Linked DNA regions of Homo sapiens: region 1 is linked to region 2. The links are contacts of gene promoters, found by promoter capture Hi-C in human tissues and cell types (Jung and others, 2019). All regions are on one chromosome and are shown on one strand. Each heading gives the region's core, a stretch centred on a gene start or on the middle of the fragment in contact. The rest is flanking DNA. Distances are from core to core; before and after follow the strand shown.

Region 1 (4,523 bases), core at 409-2,908, 50 kb after region 2:
GCATTTGCTGAATAAATTGCTTTTGGAGGGTGGAGAGCTTCTCCTTGCTCTTCATTTATTCATTCATTCATTGGATTGTTTATACATTTCTTCATGCATCTGGCATTGACTGAGCACTCATCTGCCAGGCAGGGCCAGGTGTAGAGGGTATAAAGAAGACCGGAAGGGAGACTGGCCCTACCAGGAAACTCCTGCTGCAGAACAAAGGGGTCAGAATGACATCACACCAATAACCACTCTCATAACTGTGCTTCTGTTGACAGCGAGAAGTGCCAGGAAACTCAGGGAGCCACGAGAGACTATAAGACAGGGACTCAGTCAGGCAAAGGGAGGCTTATGGGCCAGGTGGAAGCAGAAGTATGTGGAACAGGAAGAAGGAGTGTGGGGGTGTATGCAGGAGCTGCAAGTGTTCAGTACAGCAGGGAGGGTGGATGGAGAGAGAAGAGGCAGAGATCAGATTGCAAAGGCCCCTGTAAGCCCTGCTACAGGGTATGGCCTTGATCTGCTCTATGGAGCTGCAATAGTAATGGGAGCAAATACCCCATAGTACTCCAATTCAGACACTAGAGCTCAATCCTCAGGCCTAGAGATAGGTGTGGTCGAACCTTTGTGGTCCAGGGTCAAAGAGGAACCAGTTGCCAAATTGCCATTATTCTGTCTGGGTCCCTGGCTCCTAGCTTGGGCCCACTCCACTCTCTGGTGGGGAACCTCCTGGGTCCCAGGGCATGGGCTGCAGTTGGGGTTAACTGGGCAGGAGGGTGGGGGCTAAGCTGTCCTTGACCTGGGGTCTGGAGGTTCCAGGGTCCAGGAGTCAGGCAGGGAGATGAAAACTAGGCTCTCAGTATGTGAAGTGTGACATGGCCCACACATTTCTTCAGAGTTTCCTAATCCTTGGGCTGTCATGCAAACTCCTCTCAAAGTTCCTCTGCCACAGGAAGGGGTAATGTCAATCTGGGATTCTTGTTTGTCACCTTCCCGGCAGCATCACCAAGGCTTCCTCAGTCAGGGCTTACCCCACTGAGTCCCATGGCACTTCCCCACTCTGTGTCCACTAGCGGTCAGCACACCCACTGCTGGGGGAGGTCAGGATCGCCCTGTGCAGTGTGCTGGTCATTAGCGTAGGCTCTGCAGCCAGGCTGCCTGCTTCCAGTCTCAGCTCTGTCATTCCCTGGCTCTGGGACTTTGGGCAAGTGAACTAACCTCTCTGAGCCTTGGTTTCCTCATCGGCAAAATGGCGTAATTAATAGAATCAGCCTCATGTGTTAAAAGCACTAAATTAGATAAATATGGAAAGAGCCTGCTGTGGTGCCTGGCACATAAACAGCACTCAGAAAATATTAGGGAGTCCAGTGTGGTGGCTCACACATGTAATCTCAGCCCTTTGGGAAGCCAAGGCAGGAGGATCGCTTGATGCCAGGAGGAGTTTGAGACCAGCTGGAGCAACACAGTGAGACCCTGTCTCAACAAAAAGAAATAGAAAATTAGTCAAGTGGGCGGTGTGTGCCTGTAGTCCTAACTACTCAGGAGGCTGAGGCAGGAGGATTGCTTGAGCCCAGGAGTTTGAGGCTTCAGTGAGCTGTAACTCTGACACTGTACTCTAGCCTGGCAACAGAATGAGACTTGCCTATAAAAAAAGGGAAAAAGAAAAAAAAGAGGCCAGGTGTAGTGGCTCACGCCTGTAACCCCAGCATTTTGGGAAGCCAAAACGGGCAGATCACTTGAGGTCAGGAGTTCGAGATCAGCCTCGCCAACATGGTAACCCCGCCTCTATTAAAAAAAAAAAAATATATATATATATATATATATTTTTTTTTTTTTTTTTGAGACAGAGTCTCTCTCTGTCACCCAGGCTGGAGTGCAGTGGCACAATGTTGGCTCACTGCAACCTCCGCCTCCTGGGTTCAAGTGATTCTCCTGCCTCAGCCTCCTGAGCAGCTGGGACTACAGCCACGTGCCACCACGCCTGGCTGATGTTTTGTATTTTTAGGAGAGACAGGGTTTCACTGTGTTAGCCAGGCTGGTCTCCATCTCCTGATCTCGTGATCCACCTGCCTGGGCCTCCCAAAGTGCTGGGATTATAGGTGTGAGCCACTGCACCCAGCCTCTGTCAAAAATATTAAAAAATTAGCTGGGCGTGGTGGTGGGTGCCTATAGTCCCAGCTACTCAGGAGGCTGAGGCAAGAGAATCACTTGAACCCAGGAGGTGGAGGTTGCAGTGAGCTGAGATCACGCCACTGCACTCCAGCCTGGGTGACAGAATGAAACTCCATCTCAAAAAAAAAAAGAACAAATGAACAAAAGAGTAAGGATTAGGCCTCTAAATGCCATTTTTTCCAGGAGGACAGAGTACCTTCCTACTCACGGGGCTTTGGCATACAGCATTCATTCATTAATTCATTCACTCTTCATACATCTAAAATCAGTGGATCAGAATGGTCAGGTATACCTGTACCATAGGAGGCAGAAATGCCCTCACCAGCTGTGTGATCTTGGGAAAGTGACTTAACTTCTCTGAGCCTTGGTTTGCTCTTCAGTAAAACAAGGATAATAACCACACCTACCTCTAGAGTTGAGGATTCAATGAGAAAATTCCAAAGAGCACTGGGCGTGCTGCCTTTCACATAGTGAGCACCTGATAAACCTTTGAAGCCTGCCATGCAAGGAAAATGCTGGGATGCGGTTGAGCCCAAAAGGCCTGGGATGCATAATAAGGATACCTGCCCATCTGGCAGGAACAGGGAGGCTTCCAGGAGGCAGCGAGTCTGAAGGAGCTATAGGAATTAGCTGGATGGATAGAAATGACAGGACAAGCAGCATCCTTTGATCGTGGGGACAGAGACAGGTCCTGCCAAGGTGGCCTAGGCCATCCCTCAGGACTACTGTAGCCTCCACCCCTCTTGCTGGTTATACCCCTCCTCCACCTAAACATGTTCCACCAGAGAGGGGTCTCTGCCAGCCTGGGTCAGGGACTTGGTGAGAATTGCATGAAAGCTGGGCAAGATCACACACAAACTTTGCATCCGTGTTAGGGGTGCCCAGGTTTCCTCAAGGCCATCCAGGGACTCTCAAAGGCAGTGGCCTCAGCCAGAGGGAGCATGAGAATCCGCTAGAGAGCTTGTTACCTGTGCAGGTACCCCCCTCCCACCCCTAAGTCAGCAGGCCTGGGATGGTCCTGGAGTCTTCATTTTAACAGTTACCCCTGTGATTCTGAGGCTGGGGTCCCTGAACTGCACTTGGAGGTGCACCCCTCTAGAGGCCTCCAGGCCATTAAGGACCCATGGCCTATAGGATCAAGCCCTGGCACCCTGCCAGGTTGTCAGGTACTCTTAGTACTTGGACCTCACCCCCTTTCTACTCCCATCTCCACTCCATTCCTTCACACTCTGGTTGGCCCCAGAGAGTCCTGATTTTTCACCCTCTCTGCCCCTATGCTATTCCCTCTCCTGGGATTTCCTTTCTGCCTGAAGGGTTGCTGCTCCTCCTTCAAGGCCCAGCTCCAATGCCACTGCTCTGGAAGGCCTCACAGACTCTCCATCTTCTGTTCCCCAGCGCCATCTGATTGTGCTTATGTTACAACACTTAGGGGCTTGCTTCCAAATGTGTTGGACTTTAAGAAGTTAATGTCACATTGATGACCTTGCATGTTGTTGATCTGATGAGAGTAAGGGAGGCCAGATGTGCTTGGAGACCATGTCCCAGGAAAGACTACTAAGAAACCAGAGTGCTCACCCTGGAGAAGTAGTACCTCCGGGGACCACAAGTGCTGTCTGCATCACTGGAGGCCTGTCGAGGGACAGGGAACAGAGCTGCCTGAGGGTCCAGAGCAACAGGTGGGTGTCACAGAGAGGCAGATCTGGGCCAGATAGGGAAGCATGGGCTAACTGCTTCCCACAACAGATGGATGCAGGTGACCTGTCAGAAATGCGCCAAGGGGCACAGGGAATGGTATTGGCCAGACAATCCAAGTAGTGGGGAGTGGCGCCCAGCTACCTAGGCCTTCGACTCAGAAAATTCGGATTCTGGCTCTGAGTCTTCCCCAAAGTAGCTGTGTGAGCTGAGATAAGTCACAAACCCTCCTTGACCTTCCTTTTTCTTATCTATGCAATAGAGCTATGCACTTCACTGATTGCCTGTGACCCAGGCCTGTATGAGAAAATGGAAATGAAAGTGCCTCGTAAACAATAAATGGCTCAGCCTTCCTAAACAAAACATGAAACCCAGAAGTCAGAAATGAAAAGACAACAGATTTGACTACACACAGTAAAAACTTCTGTGTGAATACACAAACCAAAAGAACATTAGCAGAGAAGTGGCAAACTGATGGAAAATATTTTCAGCATTTCTGATAATTGGGTTAGCAGACATAATACAGATAACGAATAGTTCAATAAGCTGGGTGCAGTGGCTCATGCCTATAATCCCAGCACTTTGGGAGACCAAGGCATGCAGATCACTTGAGGTCTGGAGTTCGAGACCAGCCTGGTCAACATGGTGAAACCCCACTTCTAGTAAAAATACAAAAA
Region 2 (5,206 bases), core at 1,676-4,175:
GCTGCTCGAATGAGGAAACTCACTATTTCAGTAATAGTGTACACTTAGTACACTTCGAGGCAATGTACTAAGTCCTTTGTACAAACCGAAGAGTCTTATGAATCAGTCTTTGACTTGTCTCCATTTTCCAGAGGAGGAAACCAAGGCCAGGAGTTTAAGTGACTTGCCTAAGCTCATGTAGCTTGAAACTGGAGCAGCTGGGATTCGAACCCAGCTCTATCTCTAGCTCTCCAACCTCCTCTGTCAATCATGACAATTTTGCCCCTTGGTGAGTGCCCTGGGTTGCTCCCTGTAGCTCTGCACCTCCCACCCATATCTCAGTTGAGAGGAGGAGTGACAGTCCTGGTGCCCACCAAGGGTTAATGGCAGTAGGGGCTAAGTAATTCCAGATGGGCCTCAGGACGGCTGGGCTGGCCGGAAACTGGAGGCCGCCAGCTTCCCAGGGGAGCCACCGCCAACTGCCCCTCCCCTTTGTGCTGCATCTCTGGCCCCAGCTGTACCCCTGCCCTAGGGCCCACCAGCCTCCTCTCCCTTGCTAGAGTCCAGCTCTAAGGGAAATTGCAGACGGACCATCCCAAGGGCCTTGTAGCACAGTGAGTCCACAACTGTTATGTACAAATAGGGAAACCGAGGCTCAGGCAGGGCAAGGGACTTATTCAAGTTCTCCTGATAAGTCTGTGGCTGGGTCTTCTGACTCCCAGACTAGCTTCTTTGGGGACTAGGGGGTTGGTGTGTCTCGTGGCCTCCCCCAGGCTGGCCTGGCTGCAGAGGGTCAGCCAAGGATTCAGAGGTGAATGGCCCAGGCAGATGCTAGGAGGGGAGTCGTAAATTTCTGACGGAATCTTTGGGCACAAGAAATCCCTGTGCAAGCCTGACCTTGTGGCCTGTGGGATCTTTTCACATTCCCCTATTTCCCTGTTGCCACAAAGACCTGGCCAGGCCCCCTCTCTCGGGGTACTCTTATGGTCCCCAACCCGTGGCTGGGAACCAGTCTGAGAACACTTCTCCTTCTATGTGGTCCAGCCCAGATGCTCTGCTGGGCAATCCCGATTGGGACTAGACCAAGAAATGCAAGATAGTTGACTGTGGTGGGCATGGAATCCCAGCTCACGCAAATCCTCTGCTCTGTGAACAGGGGTCTGGGGGAAGCTGAGGAGGAAAGACTTAGCGGCGCAGAGGGAAGGAGGGCAGAGCCAGCCTCTACCTGTGTCACCTGGGACAGCTTTCTTCACCCTCTGGAATTCAGTTGCCCTGTGGGTGCAGTAGTGGGAGCAGGGGTGGTAAGCCCACTCTATATGCCCTTCTAAAATAATGCCCTTTGCCATCTGAGGGCTAGGAGTCTGTAACTGGAGATGTCTTCTGATCTGAGAAGCTGAGGGTGGAAGAAGAGACCCAGCTGGGGGAACTGGAGGAGTCTTGGCAGACCCTGGTAGGAAAGGAGAGCCAGAGAATGGAAATGGAACAAAACGGATACTTGAAAGTATCTTGTTGAGGCTGGGTGCGGTGGCTCAAGCCTGTAATCCCAGCACTTTGGGAGGCTGAGGTGGGTGGATCATGAAGTCAGGGGTTTGAGACCAGCCTGGCCAACATAGTGAAACCCGGTCTCTACAAAAAATACAAAAATAGCCAGGTGTGGTGGTGTGCGCCTGTAATCCCAGCTACTTGGGAGTCTGAGGCAGGAGAGTCACTTGAACCTGGGAGGCGGAGGTTGCAGTGAGCCTAGACTGCGCCATTGCACTCCAGCCTGGGAGACAGAGCAAGACTCCATCTCAAAAAAAAAAAAAAAAAAAAAAAGAAAGTATCTTGTTGAGTGACTGAATGAAAGAGCCACAGGGGGAACCTAGGAAGAAAGCAGGGCAGGGGGTTCATCTACACTGGAATAGGGGTCTCGGGTGGGGGTCAGATGACTTGTGTCTCTTCCATCATGTGTCTCATGAGACCTAGTTCTGCCCCAGCTCTGCCATTGCTGCGTAAGCTTGGGAAGCTTATTTTGCTCCTCTGGGCCTCAGTGTCCCCATCTATAAAATGGGGCAAATAATCCTCTCCTTGCACCCCAGGGGCTTTGAGACGTGAAAAGGAATGTATCTGTCAATATCCAGAGATATCCAATCTGTGCTGGATGACCTTGACCAAATCACATTCCCTCTCTGTGCCAATTCACCCCTGGGCCTTGGTTTGTCCTTCTGAAAAACGGCTGATCATCTTGGAGGATCTTTCCATCTCCTCCATGTCACCTCTTCTCAGCAGTGCTCTCTGATTCTCTCAGGCTTCCGTTAGGGGTCCTTCTAAATGCACTCTCAGCCTCCTGTCTGCCGACCGGGCACCTGCTTGCCCAATGAATATCTTGCTCACTAGCCTGGTGCTTCTGAGGTCAGGACCACGTCTTGCTACTGTCCCCTGCACCCAGTACAGTGTTAGAATGTAGTAAATGCTCAGTATGCTTGTTCAATGAATGAAGGTTGACTGAATCAACCACAGAGATGATCAGAGTCTCCTTTACAGATGGGGAAACTGAGGCACTGAGAAATGATCTCCCTGGGTGCCATGGCAAGGGGAGGCCGCCACCCGACATGGGCATCGGGAAAGTGGGGCCGAGGCCACTCTTTGACAAAAGTGACTCAGCAGCTGGCGGCTGGCGTGGGCTGTGGAATTTCTAAGCATCCCCTCACATCCTGAGCGAACGGGCGATGGGAGGGAGTAAGCAGAGTGAAAAGAAGAAAAACAAGAAACTTGGGGGAAAAGAAAGAGAGAGGGGGAAAAAAACTGAAATTGAAAACAGACGCACGCGTCCACCCTCCCTGCCCCGCCGCCCCCCCTTCTCCCAGCTGGGCCAATCAGAAGCCACCCTGCAGCCTTTCCCCCAAAGTGGCGGGGGAAGTGGGGGGGCATGGAAGCCCATAGTGGTGTGAGCTCCTGAGGCTGCCAGCAGCCAGCAGTGACTGCCCGCCCTATCTGGGACCCAGGATCGCTCTGTGAGCAACTTGGAGCCAGAGAGGAGATCAACAAGGAGGAGGAGAGAGCCGGCCCCTCAGCCCTGCTGCCCAGCAGCAGCCTGTGCTCGCCCTGCCCAACGCAGACAGCCAGACCCAGGGCGGCCCCTCTGGCGGCTCTGCTCCTCCCGAAGGATGCTTGGGGAGTGAGGCGAAGCTGGGCCGCTCCTCTCCCCTACAGCAGCCCCCTTCCTCCATCCCTCTGTTCTCCTGAGCCTTCAGGAGCCTGCACCAGTCCTGCCTGTCCTTCTACTCAGCTGTTACCCACTCTGGGACCAGCAGTCTTTCTGATAACTGGGAGAGGGCAGTAAGGAGGACTTCCTGGAGGGGGTGACTGTCCAGAGCCTGGAACTGTGCCCACACCAGAAGCCATCAGCAGCAAGGTAAGTGCTGGAAAAAGTGGGAACCCCAGCCCCATGCCCTGTCCCTTTGCCCTAACCTGCATCTCTTCGAGTAGGTAAAAAAAAAAAAAAAAAAAAAAAGGGAAGATATTTTTAACAAAACAAGATGAGAGGAGGCTGGGAGACTGTGGGTGATGTCAGGGATGGAGGAGCCAGTTTTCTCCTTTCCCCTGCTCTGGGGTGAGTGGCCTCCACCTCATCATCCCTGCTGCTCCTGCCTTCATCAAACAATCCTCAGGGGTTTCTGGGTGCTGACTGGGGGCCTCCAAAGCACAGCACAGTCAATGGGGAGTGGGGAGAGCTGGGAAGAGCGGGAGAGGGGAATTGGGAGAAGGTAGGCAGGGTACACAGAAAGCAGGGGACTGGGGACCTCAGGACCATAGCCGCTGTTCCTTGGCCCAAGCCTTGTTTCTAAGAATCAGTCTGGCTTTAGGCCAGTCAGCCGCCAGGCAACCTCTGGGGATTTAAATGGATTTGCAAATTTTCTAGATTCTTAAGATATCCTTCTAAACCCCCAGCAGCTAGAAAAGTTTGAGGGCTAGGAAAGTTCGAGGGTGATGGGCGGCCATGGCAACCCCCTAGCGGTCATGCTGCTGGGTCTGGGGGCTGGGACCTGGCTGTCAGATCTGGGGGCTCCTCTGTGAAGAAGGGGTCAGCCACTGGGCCATTTCCTTTGGTCCCAGGCAGCTGCTCAGGCCTCCTCGTTGTCTCCCTCCTTCTGGACTCTACCCCTTCTCCATGCCATTCTAAAGCATAAATCCAATCACACCACCTCCCTGCCCAGGATCCGCCTATGGCTCCCCAGTGCCTGGAGAAAGTCCCAGCTCCTAACAGAGGCTGCCACTGCTTGACACTTACTGCACGCCGCAACTGTGCTGAGTGCTTTATGAGACTGATCTCATGTAATGCTCACCAGCAACCCCAGAGGCAGTGACTGTTTTTACCTCCGTTTTATACATGAGGAACTTGAGGCTCACGCAGCCACATAACTGTAGCCACACAGCTAGTAAGTGGCACAGCCTGGAGAGGTTGGAATCTCCCCGTGCCCCATTACTCCAAACTTGGGCCTTTTGTTCCCGCCAGTCAGATCCCAGAATTCCCAGAAGGAATGCGCACCATCCTGCTTGTGGGCATTTGCCCTCCCTCTTCCCCCTTTCTGGAATGCCCTTCCTCATCACTTTTCTTTCAGGGATATTCCATACACCACCTCTTCCAGGCAGCCTTCCTAGGTTCTTCCTGTCTTCCAAGTGCTAGCCATGCACTTTGTGCTGAAGCCATGTTACTTGGCCCTCCCCTGTTGGTGATCTGTTTATGTTCTGTTTGTTCATCAGAGATTGTTCAGGCCCCAGCAGTCAGAACTGAGGCCGCACTTTCTGCTGGGGAAAGGTTTAAGGTTTCCCCATCCTGTGCTCTTCCCCCAGTGCCCAGCCCTGGATAGGCAGTGCGGCTGAAAAAATGTCCTGGTGAAAGGGAGGAGGAGCTCACTGAAGACCTTCTGCTCCCAAGTGTGAGACTAGAACCCAGGCCTCCAGCCTTCTCACAGGTGCCCTTCCAGGACATCGTGTGGCTACTCCAGGCAGCATTCCTCCATTGCAAGCAGGGAGGAGTATCTCTGCTTCCCTCTGTGACCTCCCAATTGCACAGAGGCCTCTAGTGACAAGTTCTGAAGTCATGCAGTCCTCCCCTGTCTCCAAGCAGGAGACCCTGAATCCACAGCCTTCAGGGACATACAGTCCCTGAACACCTACCTCATGCAGGCATAGAGCCTGGTACTTCACACACCTTGGAGTCCTCATGGCAAGTTTTTGAAATCAG

The links. Contacts are between HindIII fragments. The study calls those that stand out against the background at their distance.
Region 1: a contact is called between a fragment that was not itself captured here and the fragment with the promoter of PDGFRB in region 2, in 1 of the 25 tissues and cell types used here (pancreas).

Annotation. Positions count from the first base shown.
Region 1 is chr5:150,102,647-150,107,169 of GRCh38, reverse strand. It overlaps a transcript of CSF1R not described here. Among named protein-coding and RNA genes, the nearest start is that of CSF1R, 18 kb to the right of the region's middle. The HindIII fragment of the contact is 7,045 bases long and covers 1-4,523 here.
Region 2 is chr5:150,153,564-150,158,769 of GRCh38, reverse strand. PDGFRB (platelet derived growth factor receptor beta) reads left to right here and starts at 2,925. Exons shown (of 23, transcript NM_002609.4): 1 at 2,925-3,373. RefSeq lists enhancers at 219-1,007, 5,165-5,206. The HindIII fragment of the contact is 14,571 bases long and covers 1-5,206 here.